Regions from separate parts of the Homo sapiens genome. Here region 1 is linked to region 2. The links are contacts of gene promoters, found by promoter capture Hi-C in human tissues and cell types (Jung and others, 2019). All regions are on one chromosome and are shown on one strand. Each heading gives the region's core, a stretch centred on a gene start or on the middle of the fragment in contact. The rest is flanking DNA. Distances are from core to core; before and after follow the strand shown.

Region 1 (5,354 bases), core at 205-2,704, 69 kb after region 2:
CAAGCCTCACAGTTACAAGCTTAGAGAATAAGCAAAAAGAAACTAGGAACGGGTCAATGATTAAAGTGAATTATGAAAAAAAAGGGGGGTGTGAAAAGCAGAAATGTTTCAAAAACAAGTCATTGCTAGGGAGAAGAGAGATGTAGTTTCCTAACATGAGATCTGGTCAAAAGGCATCAATAGTTTCAAAAGACAGAAGCAACAGACATAATGTAAAGAAAGATGAGATAGTTGAAAGATGAGATAGATAAGACCTTAGACCAACTATCAATAGAAAGAGATTTTGGGTGAATTTACCTGTTCTGTGAATTTAAAGGAAAGGTCCATTTCTGATTCACCATTCTATTCCTGGTCCTGACACTTAATGAGTGCAATAAACATCATTTTGTAGAGGTTATGAACCTCTCAAAATAGAGATACTTGATTTGAGGAAGAAACGAATACCAAAGAGGAAAGGTTACACGTAATTGACATGCTAGGGACTAAAGTGGAGAAAATGAGTTGGTGCAATAGTAAAAGCTTTTAGAAATAAGCTGATAAAAAACTGTTAAAGAGAATAAAATATGACTTTGTATTAAAAAGCCATACACAAAAAAGATAATCCTTCCCTACAAAAAGTGGAAACAAAGATGGGGGATTGTACAAGCAAGAAGAGTTACATATGCTCAGAAAATACTCAGTTTTTCTTTAATAATAAAGATTCATATAATCAACTAGTATAATAAATCGGTGTATTAAAATCATCAGCAGGGCCGTGCGCGGTGGCTCATGCCTGTAATCCCAGCACTCTGAGAGGCTGAGGCAGGTGGATCATGAGATCAGGAGTTCGAGACCAGCCTGCCAAGAGACCAGCCTGGCCAAGATGGTGAAACCCCATCTCTACTAAAAATACAAAAATTAGCAGGGCGTGGTGGTGGGCACCTATAATCCCAGCTACTCGGGAGGCTGAGGCAGGAGAATTGCTTGAACTGGGGAGGCAGAGGTTGCAGTGAGCCGAGACCACATCATTGCACTCCAGCCTGGGCAACAGAGCAAGACTCCAACTCAAAAAAAAAAAAAAAAATCTTCAGCAAATCATTTTCTTCTTTTTTTTTTTTTTTTAGACAGAGTTTCGCTCTTGTTGCCCAGGCTGGAGTGCAATAGCGCGATCTCGACTCAGAGCAACCTCCGCCTCCTGGGTTCAAGCCATTCTCCTGCCTCAGCCTCCAGAGTAGCTGTGGCATGTGCCATCATGCCTGGCTAATTTTGTTTTTTTTTGTTTGTTTGTTTTTTTGAGACGGAGTCTTGCTCTGTCGCCCAGGCTGGAGTGCAGTGGTGCAATCTCGGCTTATTGTAAGCTCCACCTCCCAGGTTCACGCCATTCTCCTGCCTCAGCCTCCCAAGTAGCTGGGACTACAGGCACGTGCCACCACGCCCGGCTAATTTTTTATTTTTAGTAGAGACGGAGTTTCTCCATGTTGGTAAGGCTGGTCTCGAACTCCCGACCTCAGGTGATCCGCCTGCCTTGGCTTCCCAAAGTGCTGGGATTACAGGCATGAGCCACCGCGCCAGGCCCAGCAAATTGTTTTCAAGTAGAAATCTGTTCAAACTGATAATCCAGGGATAAGAATGAAAATCCTATATCTGTGTGTGTGTGTGTGTGTGTGTGTATATATATATATATATATATATATATATATATATATATATATATATATTATATTTAAGTATCTATAGCAATCATTACCTTCAAAATATACTAAGAAACAGACTTCATAAAGAAATTTATAAAGAGGTTGGATACTTGGATAAAACTATCTACAATCAGATAATCCTCTGCAGATTGCTGAAAAAGTACAATTTCCACTCTAAAAATCCCATGGGCACTCTGCTAAGGTGTGGCTAAGATGTGGATCTCTTGCCTCCTGTAACTGGTTGAGGGTCATCTGGTCTGTAACGGTGGCATCACTACCTGCTTCGGAACCCATTTCTTGCTGCAGTCCCGTCTAGAGCACTTCTGACAACAGATGTAACCATCATGTCTTAGTACATTAAGGGACACCCACTCTAGTCCACACTAGATGTAGCACTTCATGAATATTCTTTGATGAAAATGTCAATAAATCTATTTTTAATTACAGCTGTTTCTTCTTTTCTCTCTCTCCCCCTAGGTTTTTTTTTTTTTTAAACAACCTTGGAGCTGGGTGCGGTAGCTCATGCCTATAATACCAGCACTTTGGGAGGCCGAGGCAGGAGGATTGCTTGAGCTCAGGAGTTTGAGATCAGCGTGGGCAACAAAGTGAGACCTCTTCTCTACAAATAACTTAAAAATTGGCCAGGCATGGTGGGCACACCTGTGGTCCCAACTACTTGGGAGGCTAAGGTAGCCTCCCAAGTAGGTGGGAATTGCTTGAACCCAGGTGGTAGAGACTGCAGCAAGCCATGGCCATGCCACTGTACTCTAACCTGGATGACAGAGACCCTGTCTCAAATAAAAAAAAGATCCTGGGGCCAGGCACAGTGGCTCACGCCTGTAATCCCAGCACTTTGGGAGGCCGAGATGGGTGGATGGCTTGAGCCCCAGAGTTTCAACATGGCAAAGCTCCGTCTCTAAAAAAATACAAAACGTAGCCAGGCATGGTGGCAAGAGCTACTCAGGAGGCTGAGGCAGGAGAATCACTTGAGCCCAGGAGGCTGCAATAAGCCATGATTGTGCCACTGGACTCCAGCCTGGGCAACAGAGCAAGCCCTTGGCATAAACGCTTTGGCTGTCTCTGTTGTCCTGGAGGTTACAAAATGTTGTTCCCAGGGTTCTCCCTCCTCTAGTTCTAACACCCTCCTCCCTCCTCTGCTTACATGTTGTGATTAGTAGAAAAGGAAAACTTAAACTGCAGTAAGATTTACCTCACTTTCAGGTGGGTGCGGTGGCTCATGCCTGTAATCCCAGCACTTTGGGAGGCCGAGGCGGACGGATCACTTGAAGTCAGGAGTTCAAGACCAGCCTGGCCAACATGGCAAAACCCCATCTCTACTAAAAATACAAAAACTAGCTGAACATGGTGGCAGGTACCTATAATCCCAGCTACTTGGGAGGCTGAGGCAGAAGAATCACTTGAACCTGGGAGGCAGAGGTTGCAGTGAGCCGAGATCATGCCACTGCACTCCAGCCTGGGCAACAGAGCGAGACTCCATCTCAAAAAAAAAAAAAAAAAGATTTACCTCACTTTCTACTGTAACAACCAAAACAAAGTATATAACTTTTTTCTGTTCTCTCTACTAAACATTTATTCCCCTTTCTGCTATTTCCTCAATTCTTCAGAAGCCAAGTGTGGCCTTCTACTTGTTTTCTCAAGCCTCACCTTTGGCTTTCACAGGGTTCAGTAGTATCTGAACCTAGTAGGTAGAGGAAGGCAGGGAAAATGAGGCAAAACAGTCTACTCTCCTGTTTATTACAAGGTCTTTTGGGTGAGGAGCCTGGAACAACCAGGTACAAGAGGCAGTAGATGGTGGGAAGAACCCTAGACCCCCAGGTCCAGGTCAAAGTCAAAAGATGTAGGTTCTAGCCTGGCTTCACCAACTTAACAGACACTAGCTCTGAACAAATCAGATAACCTCTCAGTGTCATCTGTAAAATAGAGTTAAAATATCTTCAACTATTTACAAGAGACTGGAAGATTAAAATAAGATATTATTGGTGAAAGTGCTCTGAAAATAGTTAAATGCTATTTTAAAAATCATTTCATATGCCCATGCAATTTCTGTCCCGCAAAACAAAGTACTGGTGGTTGCTTCTTTTCATCACTAGAGCCAAAACAAGTATGACAAAATTATCCACTTCTTGACAATTCTGAGCCGTAGACAAAATTACAGGCATACTAAAATAAAATGGGAAAAGTACCAACAAATGACAAGAGACAACATAAGCCTTGCTCAAAGCTATATTGAGAATGCCTCCTTACAAGTCATCTCAGGACAAATTTCACGGTAAAAGGTTGGTTCTAGTCTTCCTTTAGCTTCCTGAAGCCTGGAGGATGCAGCAATGTCTTCAGTATATTTATGAGAATAATGGACAGAAGGATAAGGTGAAATACTACACATTTTTAGGCTTCTCCTTAAAGAGACAGGGTAAGCCACAAAGGTGATGCCAAAACATCTATAGGATTAACACAGTGGAAACAGCTCAGGTTTTAAGAGTAGGAAAGACTTTGGTTTCTGTCTGGCTTTGCCACTTCTTTACTGGGCAAACCAGCCTTTCATTCGGATTTTTAATCTGTGAAGTAGGAATAATACTATCTATCTCAAAGGGATATTCTGAGAGAGAGAATGTATGTAAAGCACTTGGCACATAAGAGATAATAAATCATAGCAGGACAGGCAAAAACAACAACAACAAAACCCTCAAGCCATCTACTTCTATGCAAATCTGAAGGCTTTTCCTCTATACCAGTGGTTCTTAACCAAGGAAATTTTGCCTCCCAGGGACATCTGGCAATGTCTGGAGACATTTTTGGTTGTCACCACTGGGGAGTGCTATTAGCATCTAGTGGGTAGAGGCCAAAGATGCTGCTAAACATTCTACAATGCACAGAGCAGTGTTCCACAACAAACAATTATCCAACCCAAAACATCGACAGTGAGAAATCCTGCCATACAGCAGGCATTCTTTGATACTCAATAGGAGTAAGCTACTTCACCTTTCCTAGCCTTCGTTTACTCACTGGCAATGTGGGAATACATTTATCTGTGCTCCTTCCTCATCAAGCTATTGGGAGGTTCAAATGAAGTAATGGATGAGAGGCATTATTATCATTATACCTTTTACTATATACACAAAACCATCCACTTGCTGCGCAAAGACAGAAGCATTCACATACTGGGGAGGGGGAGAGGGAGGCTAACGGGGTGGAAGTCTTTGTTTGGAGGTGCCATGATCTAAAGAGGGCCTCTTGCCTATCTACCTGCTTGGCGAGAGCCAAGAGAGTTCTCATGAATAGTGATGGCACAGGAGCACTTACGTCTCAGGGAGAGAAAGGAGTAAGGTGGAATGTGGGAAGTGGGTAGGAACAGCATAGGCCTATCAAAGAGGAGCAGATAGATGTTAGGAAGTGAGACACTGCTTTGTGTCTTAGTCTACTCGGGCTGTCATAACAAAATAACATAGACTTGATGGCTTAAAACAACAGAAATTTATTTTCTCACAGTTCTGAAGGCTGCAAAGTTCAAGATTAAGGTTCTAGAAGGGTTCAGTTTCTCATGATTAATCTCTTCCTGGTTTGTGGACAGCTGCCTTCTTGCTGTGTCCCCATATGGCAGGGGAAGGGAGAGAGAAAGAGAGCCTCTTTCTCTATTTATTTATTTTCTGAGACAGGGTCTCA
Region 2 (5,466 bases), core at 2,686-5,185:
CTTCCCCTCTCTGTGCCTCCTTTTCCTCATCTGAAAAATGGGGATAACAACACTCAACATACAGGTCCGAGAGATAACGCACATGAAAACCCTGACCAGCCCCCTGTTTCCTTTACCACGTCCTGAATGTCAGTTCATCAGCGGCCTCTCCTGGGAGCCTCCCCAGGAGGTGTCACTCCGTCACCCAGGCTAGAGTGTAGTGGTGTAGTCCTAGCTCATTGCACCCTTGAACTCCTGGGTTCAGGGGATCCTCCCACCTCAGCCTCCCAAGTAGCTGGGATTACAGACATTAGCCACCACATCCAGCCTCTTTGCAAATTTTGTTTTGTTTTGTTTTTTTAATACAGAGAGTTTCACTCTTGTTGCCCAGGCTGGAGTGCAATAGCACGATCTCAGTTCACTGCAACTTCCGCCTCCTGGGTTCAAGCGATTCTCCTGCCTCAGCCTCCCGAGTAGCTGGGATTACAGGCATGCACCACCACGCCTGGCCGATTTTGTATTTTTAGTAGAGATGGGGTCTCCCCATATTGGTCAGGCTGGTCTTGAACTCCCGACCTCAGGCGATCCGCCCTCCTCGGTCTGCCAAAGTGCTGGGATTACAGGCATGAGCCACCGCACCCGGTCCTTTTTTCTTAAGTTACGGGCTCATGCCATGTTGCCCAGGCTGTTCTTGAACTCCTGGGCTCCACCAATCCTCCCACCTCAGCTTCCCAAAATCCTGGGATTACAGGTGTGAGCCATGGGACCCAGCCTCCCTTGGGAAGTTTTCATCATTCATTTGAGAGTTTACTTGTTTAATCTGCCACTATCCTGTAACTGCATGAGGACAAAGACTTCTTTTGTTTGCCTATTACTCAGCATTTAGTGAGGCATCACAGAAAGCACTCAGCACACATTAACTAAATGAGACTGTTAGCTCTTCAGACAGGTAGGTGTCTTATCGTTAGAATAGTTTAAATCCCCGGATTTCCAGGGTAGTGCTGATTTTTCCAAACACTATTTTAAAGTGTTTGGGGAGTGGGAGGCGGAGCTTTGTCTTTCTTTTCAGATGGTTTCATTCTTTTCAGTAGGGACAAGGCACAGTTACACAATTGGCCCAGTTCAGCTGATATTCATGGAGCTTCTGCTCTGTGTCAGGCACCTGCCAAGGACTGGTGGTCCCTGGAGGGGAACCCATGCACCTTACTCTGGAGGAGATCACTGAATGGGGTGGTGACAGAGTGGGCTCATTCCTTGCCTTTGAACCCCACACTGCCTGGATGAGGACGGGCGTCCATCAATATCATGGAGTGATTTCTGTGGCGTCCTGGACCAGTCCTGTCTGGGGAGTAAAGATCCTACCTTAGAGCATGGAACAGCCCTCTCTGTTCTTCAGTCTCATGTTGTTGACATGGGAATAACAATACCTGGGCCGGGCGCGGTGGCTCATGCCTGTAATCCCAGCACTTTGGGAGGCCGAGGTGGGCAGATCACATGAGGTCAGGAGTTTGAGACCAGCCTGGCCAACATGGTGAAACCCTGTCTTTACTAAAAATACAAAAATGAGCCGGGTGTGGTGGTGGGTACCTGTAATCCCAGCTACTCGGGAGACCGAGGCAAAAGAATCACTTGAACCTGGGAGGCAGGGGCTGCAGTGAGCCGAGATTGTGCCACTGCACTGCAGCCTGGGCGACAGAGCGAGACTCTGTACCCCCCTCCCGCCCCAAAAAACCTAATACCTGCTTGCTGCTCCCTCCGTATGGGGAGTTCGGCATTCATCTGGAAGGGAGCTCTTGAACACAGAATGGGCATATGGCATGGAAATGGGTCCTGACAGCCACTTCCTGCTCAGCCTTTTAGGATCCTGCAGCCTGGGTACACTGAAATGGTGCTGCTGTTCTTGAGGAGGTTTTTTGTTTTTGTTTTACATTATTGGGGTCTTGCTGTGTTGCCCAGGCTGGTCTTGAACTCCTGGGCTTAAGCGATCCTCCTGGGGAGGATTTTTACAAACCCAAGACCAGGAAACCCCAGGGAGAGAACCTCTGGCTTGGGTAGCATGAGTGCCCACTTGAACCTGGCTGGAGCTGTGTGGCCTCAGGCAAAGCATGCAAGCTTCCCCCGTCTCATCTGTGAACAAGGTGCACTACAGGCGCCACGGGGCTGTGGGGAGAGTTGCAGGAGTCTGGCACAGAGTGGGTGCTCAGTAAGGCTTAGTTTCCTTTCCCCTCCTTCAGGAAGACCACAGTTACCACCTGCAATAAACTGAGAGACTCCTTCCTGCCGCAGGTGGAGCTGGGGGCTGGGCCCAAAGGCAGATGGAGACAGGGGAGCTGTACTCAGGCTGAAAGCCTCCCCAAAGTCTCTGCAGCTCCCTTCACCTGGTCAAGGACTTGGTCAGGTCAAGGCCAATAAGCCCCTGGGGGCAAAATAAAGACCATACAATGGGCCAGCCTAGGAGGAGGCAGAGTATTAGCCGCACATTTTGTAAGACAGCATCAAATCATTAACTCTACAAATTTTTGAAAAACTTACTATGTGCCAGGCACTTTCCGGAGGACATGAGGCATCGGGTGAAAGGAAAAAGTTAGTCAACGGCAGCCGAGATGAGCACGCTGCCCAGAATATTGTGTTTTTTTTTTTTTTTTTTTTTTCAGTATCTCACTTGGGTCCCATTTCAGATACAGTGACCAAGTCCCTGAGAGGACAACCATGTGATTCTGTTCATGTAGCCCATTCGTGCAGGACTGGGCCTGCCATCATGTGTATTTTGTGCTTCTGAAGATCATTTTTCAGCAGTGGGGGTAAGAGTGATGAATTTGGCCAGGCACAGTGGCTCATGCCTGTAATCCCAGCAATTTAGGAGGCTGAGACAGGAGGATTGCTTGAGGCCAGGAGTTCGAGACCAGCCTGGGCAACATAGTGAGAACCCCCACCCCCACCCCCACCACCGCCTGCCATCTCTACAAAAATATAACGAATTAGCTGGGCATGGTGGTACATGCCTGTAGTCTCAGCTACTTGGGAGGCTAAGGCAGGAGGATCACTTGAGCCCAGTGGTTCAAGTCTATAGTTAGTCATAATTACGCCGCTGCACTCCAGCCTGGGTAACAGAATGAGACCCCAACTCAAAAAAAAAAATGAATTTGGATTGAGTTAAAGGGAGACCTCTCCCTCTCTTCCAATTGAGAAATATCACCCCTTTGAGAGTGAGAGTGCACTGTAGGCTCTACAGCTGAAATGTCTTGAGAGATGGTAGCCCTCACGTTCCTGACTTTGGAGTCTGACTGCAGCGCAGAGAGGGGCCCAAAGTCACACAGCAAGTGCGCACCTGAGATGGGACTAGGACGGGCGTGAAGACAAGCTGCACGGAAGAGCGTAAGCTCCAAGAGGAGGTCAAAGGTGGAGCAGGTGAGTCTTGGTTCTTCTGGGACCCCCAGAAACCACCCCTCTTTACAGCCTCAGTAGAACCACTCCCCCTTCTCCTTGAGCTTGTTTTTTTCCCAACAGCAAATAAAGCCCAGTCCCAGTCGGGGCAGGGGAGACCATTCTTCCTCACCTGTCTCCAGGCCATCCAAGAACAAAAGCAAGCATACTTACTGGTTTGTCATCAAAGGCTTGGGAAGACAGCTCTGCTGAGACGCATGCTCTGGCTGGACAGGTTAGGGCTTTGGGGGCCCTTCTGGAAGTCTGCCAGTGTCCTTGGTCCTAGGACACCCAGAACTCTCTCAGCCTGGGAGGATCTTCAGGGAGAGGCTAGGTGTTGGTTTGGGTAGCTCAGCATCTGTCTGCAGTCAGCAGTTTGTACACCAGGGATGGATCAGCTGCCCCATGCTCCTTAGGGATTCTGGACTGGGGAACCCTCCCAAGCACAGCCGAGCCAGGGAGGGAAGGCCCAGGGCCCTTTGAGCTCTGTCACAGAGACACAGGCGTGGGGTCCTTGGAGCTCTAGCTCCGACTGCAGACTCTGTGGTTCTCACAACCACCCGTTTCCTCTGACGGCATCACAGACCGTCGAGGAGCCACCTTCCCCAAGTTCCTGTTTCTAGGGGAGCAGCTGCTGCCTTGTCATGATCGTGGAGCAAAAGGTTTTTCTCTGGCTTTGTGGCTTAGTCTTGTCCAAGGAACACAGGACTGAGGAAAATGAGCCGGAGTTCCCATGCTGGCCTGACCATAATAATCACTCAGCGGGACTTAATTGTAGCAATTTCTGGGATCTCCCAAACTTTCTAAATCCAAGTCTCCAGATAGGGAGCCCAGGAATCTAAATTTTAAACCCTGCAGGAGATTCCCTTGACTGACGAGTGTGGGAAGCACTGCCTTCTCAGCCTTTAATGTGTATAGGAATCACCTGGGGATCTTGTTGCACTGCAGGCTCTGATTCAGAAGGTCTGGGGCAGAGTTCAGTATTTTGCATTTCTAATACGCTCCCAGGTGACCCCCATGTTGCCAGTCTGGGGACCACACTTTGAATAGCAGCAGTATCTGGACAGTGGTCTCCAAGTATGGTCCCTAGACCAGCAGCCTCAGCGGGAATTTGTTAGACATGCAAATTCTCAGGCCGCATCCCAGATCTATGGAATCATACTCTGGAGGTAGGCCCAGCAATCTGTTTTCATGCCTCCAGGTGATTCCGATGCATGCCCAGGCTTGATTTTTTTTTTTTTTTTTTTTTTTTTTTTTTTACAGGGTCTTGCTTTGTCACCCAGGATAGAGTGCAGTGGCACAATCATAGCTTAGTGCAGCCTTGACCCAGGCTCAAGTAATCCTCCCTTCTCAGCCTTGAGTAGCTAGGACTACAGGTGTGCACCAGCACTCCTGGCTAATTTTAAATTTTTTTTGTACAGATGAGGTTTCACTGTGCTGCTCCATCTAATCTCAAACTCCTGGCCTCAATTGTTCCTCCCACTTCCACCTCCCTAAGTGTTGGGATTACAAGCATGAGCCACAGTCCATGCCCAAGCTTGAGAATCACTGGTCTAGGATAAAGAATCTGACTCTGGCTGAATTGTCTTTGATCAGTGTGTTACCTTCAGTCCCACTCTTCATTAAGATTTAACCACACCCTCTCGCTGCTTCCCCATTAGGGGGATTAGTACTCTTGGAGACAAAGGGCCCACTGCACTGAAATGATTCCTGACTCCAGCTCAGCCCATGCAGCCCTTTCTGGGGCCTTGCCAGCTACAGCACTCCTGCTCAGGTTCTCCTTTGATCCTAGGGAAGGCTGGTTTGATTTTTATCCTTGTAGGCACTTGGCACACAGAGCTGAAGGAGCCAGAGTGGAGGCACACTTCTGCAAGAGAGTTCTAATCAGGACGTTAGAATGGGTGACAGCCACTCAGGGATGTGGGCCTTGGCAGGGAGGGACTTGAGCTTGAGCCCACCTTCCCACTCCTGCTGCCATACAACTGTAATGCCCGTCTTCTTATGATACGCACATCTTCAAAACAAGCCTCAAGGTGCAGTTCATGAATGGGGCAGGAAGTAGGG

The links. Contacts are between HindIII fragments. The study calls those that stand out against the background at their distance.
Region 1: a contact is called between a fragment that was not itself captured here and the fragment with the promoter of SLA2 in region 2, in 3 of the 25 tissues and cell types used here (IMR-90 fibroblasts, dorsolateral prefrontal cortex and heart left ventricle).

What each region holds. Positions count from the first base shown.
Region 1 is chr20:36,713,359-36,718,712 of GRCh38, forward strand. The region is part of intron 2 of NDRG3 (NDRG family member 3); the gene reads right to left. Among named protein-coding and RNA genes, the nearest start is that of NDRG3, 30 kb to the right of the region's middle. The HindIII fragment of the contact is 6,918 bases long and covers 1-4,913 here.
Region 2 is chr20:36,642,261-36,647,726 of GRCh38, forward strand. SLA2 (Src like adaptor 2) reads right to left here and starts at 3,936. Exons shown (of 8, transcript NM_032214.4): 1 at 3,577-3,936. RefSeq lists an enhancer at 569-1,239. The HindIII fragment of the contact is 4,817 bases long and covers 562-5,378 here.